Linked DNA regions of Homo sapiens: region 1 is linked to region 2. Evidence: promoter capture Hi-C in 16 types of primary human blood cells and fetal thymus (Javierre and others, 2016). All regions are on one chromosome and are shown on one strand. The core of a region is centred on a gene start or on the middle of the fragment in contact, and the rest is flanking DNA. Distances in the headings are between cores, read along the strand shown.

What was found. The method cuts DNA at HindIII sites, captures the fragments that hold promoters and counts their contacts. A CHiCAGO score of 5 or more calls a contact.
Region 1: a contact is called between a fragment that was not itself captured here and the fragment with the promoter of ADAM11 in region 2, in 1 of 17 cell types (endothelial precursors). The highest score is 5.5, in endothelial precursors.

What each region holds. Positions count from the first base shown.
Region 1 is chr17:44,877,874-44,882,890 of GRCh38, forward strand. EFTUD2 (elongation factor Tu GTP binding domain containing 2) reads right to left here. Exons shown (of 28, transcript NM_004247.4): 7 at 3,814-3,849; 8 at 2,681-2,771; 9 at 1,683-1,765. Among named protein-coding and RNA genes, the nearest start is that of EFTUD2, 19 kb to the right of the region's middle. The HindIII fragment of the contact is 1,061 bases long and covers 881-1,941 here.
Region 2 is chr17:44,756,430-44,761,841 of GRCh38, forward strand. It overlaps ADAM11 (ADAM metallopeptidase domain 11), which reads left to right and starts at 2,559. Exons shown (of 27, transcript NM_002390.6): 1 at 2,559-2,831; 2 at 3,293-3,468. The coding sequence starts at 2,771. RefSeq lists an enhancer at 2,200-2,751. The HindIII fragment of the contact is 6,513 bases long and covers 1-5,333 here.

The DNA.
Region 1 (5,017 bases), core at 161-2,660, 120 kb after region 2:
GTAATCTCCACACTTTGGGAGGCCTAGGTGGGCAGATCACTTGAGGTCAGGAGTTCGAGACCAGCCTGGCCAACATGGTGAATGAAACCCTGTCTCTACTAAAAATACAAAAATTATCCAGGTGTGGTGGCGTGCACCTGTAATCTCAGCTATTTGGGAGGCTGAGACAGGAGAATTGCTTGAACCCAAAAGGCAGAGGTTGCAGTAAACTGAGATCGCACCACTTCACTCCAGCCTGGGCAACAGAGCAAGACTCCATCTCAAAACCAAAACAAAACAGAAGGAATAAGAAGAGTTAGAAGACTCACTATTTGCAACTATTGTAGGAACAAGCCAAGAATCATCAATAGATGACAAAACTAGTAGATAAAGTTTGATAAGGAGAAGAATAACCAGATTCTAATAACCAGAGCTTAATCACGAGGAAGTATTAGACAAACCCAAATTGAAAGACATTCTACAAAATAAGTGCCCTGTACTCTTCAAAAGTGTCAATGTCATAAAAGACCAAGAGAGGCTAAAGAACAGCTTCAATTCAGAGAGACTTGAAAATCATGAAAACTAAATGTTATGCATCACTCTGGATTAGGGGAAAAAATTCTATAACGGAAATTGTTGGTATGATTAATAAAACTGAATAAGGTCTGCAAAAAAAGATCTGTACAACAGGACTGTATCAATGTCAAATTTTCTGATTTTGGCAACTGTACTGTGGTTACATAGGTGAATGTCCTTATTCTTAGAAAATACATTCTGAAATATTTTACTTTCAAACAGTTCAAGGGGAAAATGTACACACCTGTCTCTCTGTGTGTGTCTGAACGTGTACAGAGAGAGAATTACGAAGTAAATGAGGGTGGGTTCTTTGAACAATTCTTGAAGCTTTTCAGTTTGCTGCTATTCCAAAATGAAAAGTCAGTTTAAAAAAAGACAATTCTGGCTCCCTCTGCTGGCTGTCTCACCAATGATAACACGAATAAGGTTAGCCAAAGTGTTCCATCTCTCAATTGAGGAATACAGAAGACACCCTGGTATTTTAACTCCAATCTCTTGGAAAAACACAACTAATATTAAAAATCCACTTACAAGAACATACACTCCTCCCTTCCTTTTATTTACATTTGTCATTTTATCTTTGTGTTTTCTGAATAGCAATGAGTCTTATCATTTTGAGCTTCACTGAGCAGGAAGCAAGGGCACCCACATTGATAATTTTTTTCTTCGTTTTTTGAGAGAATGTCTCACTCTAGCACCCAGGCTGGAGTGAAGTGGCGCAATCTCGGCTCACTGCAACCTCCAACTCCCAGGCTCAAGTGATTCTCCTGTTTCAGCCTAATGAGTAGCTGGGATTACAGGCATGGGTCACCACACCTGGCTAATTTTTGTATTTTTGGTAGAGACGGGGTTTCGCCACGTTGGCCAGGCTGGTCTCGAACTCCTGACCTCAGGTGATCCACCCACCTCAGCCTCCCAAAGTGCTGGGATTACAGGTGTGAGCAACCACACCCGGTAAGAATTAATTTTGAAACATTTGCTGCTTTAATTTTAGAGCAAATTTGAGCCTTAATCCCAGAGAGTTTCAAGTTCTCTGGCTCCCAGCTCACTCAGTGCTCTGGGTATTGTTGCGGGGTGGGGGCAAACATAACAGGTGGATGAGATTCTGGGAGCTGAGTCTGACTCACCCCCTCAGCAGCATCAATGAAAAGGACCACTCCATCTGAGATGCGCAAGCCAGCTGTGACCTCATCAGAGAAATTCACATGTCCTGAAAAGCAAATACTAAGTAAGTCATCACTTGGTGCAGGATAAAGCACAATTAACTGGTAGGGTGAACTGAGGGGGCACTTCAAAGCCCGTGAACCTCCGAATATCCCCTTTCCTCCTCGCCATAACCCCCCACAGGGTAAAAATATCCCCCATTAGTGTCATATCCTTGCATTAAGCTTTCCTACGGGAGGCTCCCTACATAAAAAGAGGGACTCCTGGGACTCATGCCCAGGAGAGCATGAGTCCACACACACAGACCAGCTTAGCCTAATCAGCAGTAAGTAGAGTTCTGTGGGATTCAAGACAATCTGGAGGCAGGAGAAAGGGCAAAGCAGGGCCTGGAGCACAGTGTGCTGCTCGAGGAAGGCAGTTCCTGGCAAGGTGCTATGGGGGCAGGGGCTGAGAGGTATCAGGACACTGGGCATCAGATGGTGCCAAGAAAGCAAATCAGCCAAAACCTAAAACCTTCCAGTTTTTAAAAACTCTGCCCCAGTTGGTCCTTTCCATAGGAGGAAGAGTCAGCCAAGGTGCGCTGCTCCCAAGGTCATCAGGATGTTCACCAGTCTCCTTCAAAAGACTGAGAGTACTCAAGGCCAGGGACTGGCTCTGACTCACCTTTAGCTCCCCAGCAGATAGCATGGGGCCTGACAGGCTGAAATGAATAAATGAATACAATTCCCTAACATTTTTAAATATTCGAAAGAGTAAAGACATGAATAGAAGGCCTGGAGTATGATGCTTGCTAAATTAACAAGTCAGAAACAAAGGAGAGAGTCAAAATGGAAAATGGTTTCAATGAAGGTGAGGGAATGTAAAAACAAAGATGCACTGCTCCGTTCTGCTCCGAAAAGTGAGAGGACACACGCAAAACCAAGACAAGGTTCTAATAATCAAAAGCCAAAGGATGTCCTACCTGGAGTGTCCATGATATTGAAGAGATAAGATTTTCCTTTGGTGTCTGGCAAGACCACTGTCACAGGAGTGCTTTTGATGCCTACACCTCTCTGAAAGGAACAAAGAGTGGTCAAGACCTCTTCCTATGCAAGAGGGGTTCATTTTGTTTTTGGGGCTCCCCAGTTGCTAGTAAATTACACTGATGCCTCTCCTTATAGTGGGTGATTTTTATCTAGGCCTCTAGCCAGCATGACCTTGAAGATAAAATATCTTGGTGTTAGACACCATTTTTGGGGGACTTGTTTCAAATGTGAAAAGATGAAAATGAATTACTGCAAACAAAACAGTATTAAGCCTTATCAGAGAATCCAGGGTCCTAGAATCTCATCCTCTTTATACATTAGAAACAAAAACAATAGCTGAGCACCTTGAAAGTAAAAAGAAACAATCTGGGGTATTTTAGTTTTTTTTTAAAAAAGAAATATAAAAGCTATGACAGAAATAAACATTTTTTTTAAAACTCCAAACAAATACATAAATACATTATAAAATAATAACAGCTAACATTGATTGCCTATCTATCTTTACTAATTCCAAGTGCCTTTAGTTAACCATACTTATTATACTTAAAACTTCCATTAGGAAAAAGAGACAGAAATAAGAGGAGGGAAACAGAAGGGGTCAGAGATTAGAGAGAAAGATCCGGAAGGAAAGACAAAAAGAGAAACACAAAGATATAGGAACCCATTTTCAAAGAGAAGCTACTCCTAGAAAGAGGTCATCATATGGATGGACTCATCCTGCGGATTTTTAAAGGATGATGTCATTTTAAAAAAATCATGTTGAGCTTCTGCGTAACTTATAGCACAAATGCAGACATCGCCTCTTAGTACTTCTCCTATATTAGGCCAAATTTAATCTAGTCAAGAACAGGAGGGTTCCCCTCCTAACCTACAGCTTGCCTACCCAGTTCTTTTTCAAGTTATAACCCTGGAGTAACTGGGGGAAGAAGGAGATGGGATGTGAGAAGTGGAGAGAGAGGAGTAGGATATGAACTAAAATGCTATCATAAAGGCTCCTCTACATTCCCTACAAAACTATTACTGGTGGGTCTGGTGTAGGTGACAATCAGATTCCCCAAGGCATGCTTACCTCTTGCTCTGTGAAGAGGATGTCAGTATAGCACAGCTGAAAAAAAATTAACTGTTGTTACCACCTGAGTTGAGACTGCTCTCCCACAAACGAACCATCAATCACTTTCCCTCACTACCTCCCAGCTCAAGGGTTTCTTTGAGATTAAAGAGAGAGAGAGAGCAGGGTGTCCCCACAGCAATTACAGACAATGAGACCAGTGCCCTCCCAGCTGGAAATGCTCCTGGGTGTGTGGAGGGATTTTTTTATTTTTACTTTTTTGGAGACAGAGTTTTGCTCTTGTAGCCCAGGCTGGAGTGCAATGGCGCGATCTCAGCTTACTGCAACCTCCTTTGCCTCCAGGGTTTAAGAGATTCTCCTGCCTCAGCCTCCCAAGTAGCAGGGATTGCAGACGTGCGCCACCATGCTCAGCTAATTTTGTATTTTCGGTAGACACAGGGTTTCATCATGTTGGTCAGGCTGGTCTCGAACTCCTGACCTCATGTGATCCCCCCGGCTCAGCCTCCCAAAGTGCTGGGATTACAGGCGTGAGCCACCACACATGGCTGGGTTTTTCTTTTTGGTTGTGATTTTGTCTTTTTTTGAGATGGAGTCTCACTCAGTCGCCCAGACTAGAGTGTGGTGGCATAATCTTGGCTCACTGCAACCTCTACCACCCAGGTTCAAGCGATTCTCCTGCCTCAGCCCCTTGAGTAGCTGGGACTACAGGTGTGCACCACCGTGCCCACCCAGCTACATTTTGCATTTTTAGTAGAGATAGAGTTTCGCCATGTTGGCCAGGCTGGTCTCAAACTCCTGACCTCAAGTGATGCTCCTGTCCTGGCCTCCCAAAGTACTGGGATTATAGGCATGAGCCACCACTCTTTTTGAGTTGGGGGAGGTCACTAAAGACCAGGTATAGCTGAGAGATAATTTATATCAAATGCACAGAATTCTTAGTGTGGTAAAGGGAGACACATGTCAGCCTTAATGCTAAAGTGTTAAAACAATCAATCTGGCAGGGTTTGAACATTTATTGCACTGAGACTTGCAGACACAGTTGGCCTCATTCACAGGCATTTAAATTTACCATGAAAACCAGGTACAATTGTACCATATTTATAGAGCAGGCTATTAATACTATAACAGGAAAGAATAGACTATAAAAGTCAGGATATATCATAACAGAGGAGGGATCCCAAGTGCAAAATGGATCATCCAAAAA
Region 2 (5,412 bases), core at 1,309-3,808:
GGGCAACATGGTGAGATCCCATCTCTACTAAAAATACAAAAAATTAGCCAGGTATGGTGACACATGCCTGTTGTCCTAGCTGCTCGGGAGGCTGAGGCAAGAGAATCACTTGACCCCAGAGGTGGAGGTTGAAGTGAGCCGCGATCTTGCCACTTTACTCCAGCCTGGGTGACAGAGCGAGACTCTCCAAAAGAAAAAAAAAAAATAGTAAGTTCTAGCCGGGTGCGGTGGCTCACGCCTGTAATCTCAGCACTTTGGGAGGCCGAGGCGGGTGGATCACGAGGCCAGGAGATCGAGACCATGCTGGCTAACATGTGAAACCCCGTCGCTACTAAAAATACAAAAAAAAAAAAAAAATAGCTGGGCGTGGTGGCGAGCACCTGTAGTCCCAACTATTCAGGAGGCTGAGGCAGGAGAATGGCGTGAACCCGGGAGGCGGAGCTTGCAGTGAGCCGAGATCGTGCCACTGCACTCCAGCCTGGGCGACAGAGCCAGACTCTGTCTCAAAAAAAAAAAAAAAAAAAAAGTAAGTTCTAGCCAGATCTGCTGGGAGCCGGGGAACCCAGGAATATAAGTGGCTATGGGGGCCAGGGAGCCATATGACCGAGTCTCCACTGGAACTAGCCCAGGGTGCCACCAGGGAGAGTCACTCTTAGGGCTCATCAGGTCTCCCCAACAGGAAGTCTAGGGTCCCAGGGCCACCGATGTGGTAGGAACATGCCTCTGGTGAAGAGGCCTGGACCACAGATTGGGCTTGCTCTGTGGTCTTGAACATGTTGGAGGACCCAGACTCTCCCAGCCCCGGGCTCGCACTGTGAAATGACAAACCTCACCCAGCCTACTGGGGGGCACTCCTGATCGGGACTTGCTGATGTGGCCCTGGGACATGGGCAGGCTGGAGCAGGACAGCCACCTTCGTGTCTGGGGTGTGTGGTGAGGGTGCATGGGACCAGATATACCAGTCCCCTCTGGTCCCAAATGGAGGGCAGAGATGGAAGTAGGACTAGGGGTGGCTAAGAGGAGTGGGGCCATGGAGTATGGGATGTGCCTTTCACCAGCTGTGTGACTTTGAGAAGCTCACATAACCTCTCAGAGCCTCAGTTTCCCCATCTGTAAAATGGGGAGCACAATCTCTCCCTCTGGGCTCATGATGAGTTTCCAGGAATACCACCTAGTAGGCCCTCATTCCCAGGAGCCTCCTCATGCCTACATCTTGGAGGAGGTTCTCAAGATGTCTCCAGAGCGAAGGAAGAATTGGCTCAGCCTTACTGAGCATCTGGGCCTGGCATGGCAGGTGGTTGGGGGTGGGGGGAGTCACTTGGTTCCCTACATTGATGTCAGCGCCTCCTGGGAAATCGCCTTCTCACCTCTCCTGGGCCTAAAATAGAGCGGGGGGTGGGGGTGTCACAAGCTAGAGGCAGTTCCCTCATCCCCAGCAGAGGCCCTGGGTCCTTGCGGAAGCAGAGGACCCAGGAAGGGGTTTCCTGCCTCCAATCTTGTTCTTCAGCAACCTGTGGTCCCCTAGCATGGGTACCAAAAAGGTCAGGGTGGGGACTCAGCGGCCCACCCACCATGCCCTACCACACCCCACACCATCTCAGGTATCTGGCCTTCAGCACCCCTAGCAGAAGTCTGAGGTCCCAGCCCTGGTATTGGGACCCAACATCCCCAGGAGCTGGGTGGAGGGCACAGCTGGGAATGTAGGTTGGGAGGTCAAGTATTTTGCAGACAGGGCAGCCTAGTCTGACCAGAGAGGGAATGCTGGGGGGCTCCAGAGGTGTCTTCTGCTCCTAAGGATTGGGACTAGCAAGGGAGGGGGAGCCATGGGGCATGCTAGCAGCATATAAGTGACCTGGCTAGTTTATATTTTATCTAGGAGGAAGGACAGGACGCCTGTGAGAGACTCAGGAACCCAGACGGACATGCCAGCCCTTCCTGATGGTTGGAGTGACAGCGATCCCTGAAGCCCTCCTGGAGGCCGGGGCATCTTTGGCGGGGAGAAGGAGCCGATGGGAAGGGGTCTGTACCGCGGGCGTGAGAGGACTCCGCAGTGACACGACCCGTAGCGAAGGTGCAAGAAATCCCAGAGGCGTAGAGCCCGGCGTTCGCCAAGAGCCTTTGCCCACCCCAACCCCAGCTTCCACAGCCTGGGGTCAAGCGGGGCGCTCCAAGCTGGGGCTGGGGCAGCCTCTCTGGGGTACCACGACAGAGGGGCGAACGTGGGCGCCGCAGCCACGCCCCTGCCCCCGGGCCCCAGACAGGCAGTCGCCGGGTCGACCCCGGGGGTACCCCGTCCCCTGCTTCCCTCCCCTACAAATCTACGAGTCCTCGGAGATGCTCAGGCAGAGGTGGCCGAGGAGAGGCCGCGGGATAAGTACGCGGAGCGCCACCGCCCCGCACCTGCCGAGGAGACTTCGAGGTGCGAGGAGGGACCCCGGGGCGGCGCCTCTTTTGTCCTGCCGCGGCGGCGGCCCGGGCCCTGCGGGGCTGGGGGGGCCGGGGGGCGGCGGGAGAGCGGAGGGCGGGCCCTGGGCTCACGTGCTCGCTGCTCAGCTCTTAACCCGGCCCCGCCGCCCCGCCGGGATGGCCGCGGCCGGAGCGCGCTGAGCCCCGGCGCCGTCCCTGCCGCCCCCACCTCTCCGCGACCCCCGCCCGGCCCCGCGCCCCCGCCCCGGCTCCGCAGCTGGCGCCTCCCCACCCCCGTCCCTGCTCCCGCCCTCCCCGCGCCGCTGGCAGCCGCAGCCCCCGGACCGGGAGGAATGAGCGAGCCATGAGGCTGCTGCGGCGCTGGGCGTTCGCGGCTCTGCTGCTGTCGCTGCTCCCCACGCCCGGTGAGTGACCCCCGCCCGGCCCCGGCGCCCCCTCCCTGCCCCCGCCCCGGGATGTGCGGCGCTTGCTGCTGCAGCCACCTTTTCCTGCAGTGCTCGGGGTGACAGCCGGTCCGGAGCGCGGGAGGGTAGGGGAGCGGGAGAGGAGGGAAGGTGCGTCCACCCACCTGTCCCCAGCTGGCCGGGCCCACCGCGTCCCTGCCCCTGCCGCCGACCGGCCAGCTCTGCAGGTCTCTGCGGGTTTGGGCGGATGGGGGGGCAGTCGTGACGGTTGGGCGGGAGTGAAGCTCCTGGCCCCCTCCCCGCGGGCTCTTGCCTCTGCAGGGCAGCCAGATCCTCCCACCCGGATCGCCCTAGGGCTCCAGGGGCCACACCAGAGTGGGGGATGAGGCATGCCCACCCCATTCCCAAGTCTTCTGCCCCAGGGTGGGCAGCTGCCTGCAGCCATGGCCTTGTTTCCCCAGGTCTTGGGACCCAAGGTCCTGCTGGAGCTCTGCGATGGGGGGGCTTACCCCAGCTGGGAGGCCCAGGAGCCCCTGAGGTCACGGAACCCAGCCGTCTGGTTAGGGAGAGCTCCGGGGGAGAGGTCCGAAAGCAGCAGCTGGACACAAGGGTCCGCCAGGAGCCACCAGGGGGCCCGGTGAGTGGGGCTGGGTGGTGAGGCCAGGGGCTGAAGCAGGCCTCAGAGCCCCAGGAAGCCCACGGGGTAACCAGGGTTGGAGTCCCCCTCAGCAGCTGCCCCGCAGGGTCCCCTTCTGTACAGTGGGCTATCCGGTGGGTGCTGGAGCCCACTGGTGGGGAGCACCAGGCCTGCCCAGCCCCAGGGCCCCCTTCCATTATTGTAGGGTCCCCTGCCCTCAGTGTACAGGGACCACTAATGCCTAGGTCTCAGGTCTGCTTTGGGTCAGCCTTCCAATGGCCCCCTGCTCTGCTCTGGCCAAAGCTAGTTGTTCTGTTCAAAACAGGGCTTGGATGGGGCAAGTTGGGGGCAGGGAGAGGCAGCCCAGATTCCAGTCAGGGATTAGGGCTCTCAGGTTCTCACCACAGCCACCTTAGTGGGCTTTCTTGGAACAACTTAGTGCTTGCTCCTGCCTCAGTTTCCACACAGTGCCCAGATAGGCTTGTTGTTCTTCCTGTCCTGGCTGAAGGTGGGGCCTTGGAAAATAACTTGAGGCCCCAAGCCAGCTCTACCTGCCTGCCCACTGTCCCTTTCAGCTGCCAGGCCCCTCCTGCCTCCCAGAGGAAGGTTAGGCATGAAGGAGATTAATTGCAATTAATAATTAATTAATATCATGTGAATAATAATCACCCAGATGGAATATTCATTCAGCACACCCCAGCGCTCCAAGAGCTGGAGCTGAAAGTGAGCCAGGCCAACAGGGCAGCAGAGGGCAGGTTGGCTGGCAAAGGCCCGGCACAAACAGGAGGTATAGGGGGGAGACCCAGAAGAGGGGTACAACTGAGGCCTGGGAAGTTTTGGCAGCGGGGAGTGGTGGGAGGTAAATTGGGCTGGGCAGAGGGAGGAAGGAGGGAAACGGAGGCTAACATTACGGACATCTGTCAGACTGGCATCTGGCCCTGCCTAATGTACTTGGTTAAAAGCCCTTAAGGGAGGGGAGCAGAGGGGGATGCGGGGTGGTGCAGGGGTGGAGAATACTGATGAAATGGATGGAGCAGGAAGGGAGCATGCATAATAGATGGACCATCACTCAGGGCCGTGCAGAGGGGCAGGGGGAGGGGGCTAATGGTCCAAGGCCCGCAGTCACTGGGGGTGGGGTGGGGGGTGGAAGCTGCCTTCAGCAACTGCCCAGGCTCCCTGGGAGGTGTGCAGTCCTAGGGCCGGGGATGGGGTGTCCTGGCCGCTGAGTCTGGCTGTCTTGCCTGGTGTCACTCCCTACCTGTGAACTGTGCACCCCGTGGTTACACTGTGGGGGAACTGATGGTCTGCCCGACTGCTGGGACTCTGGCTTATGCTTTAAGGGATGTGCAGATTGAGTCATGGAGGGATGTCACCGCAGGGAAAGGGGACAGAGTTGAGGAAAAGCCTGGAGTCAGGTAGGGATGAAAAGTCAGGTATTCCAACTGGGCAGGTTGCTCCTTCAGCCTGACCCTTTCCGAACAGAGACAGAGGTGGCAAAGGGTAGGAGGTTCTGGGCTGTGGTGGTGTCTGCAGCTGCGTGGGAAGGTCAGGATGGGTGCAGTTGAACTGCTTGGGTTGGGGGTCTCTGTGTTGTTCTGCAGGTGAGTGAGTGCATGTGAGGTGTGTATGTGATCCACCGATTCCAGATACTTCTGAGGGGTGTCTGAGAGCCTGCGGGGAGGGAATGGAGTTCCATGGATCTGCCGGGCAGTGATTATCTCCAATTTTGGGGTCTCTCTGAGACTGAGACTTCCTAGGGCCCTCATGGCGACCTCCTCAAGGGACTTGTTTGGGGCCCTCTCTTATCTGTGCCTCAGTTTCCCCTGAGGTACCAAAGCTGTGGACTTCTATGGGCCACTCTGCCAAGCTTTGTATGCACTCTACATCACTTATTTCTCACAACTCTGTAAGGCTTGTAACTTTTGTGTGTTTATGTGTGTGTGT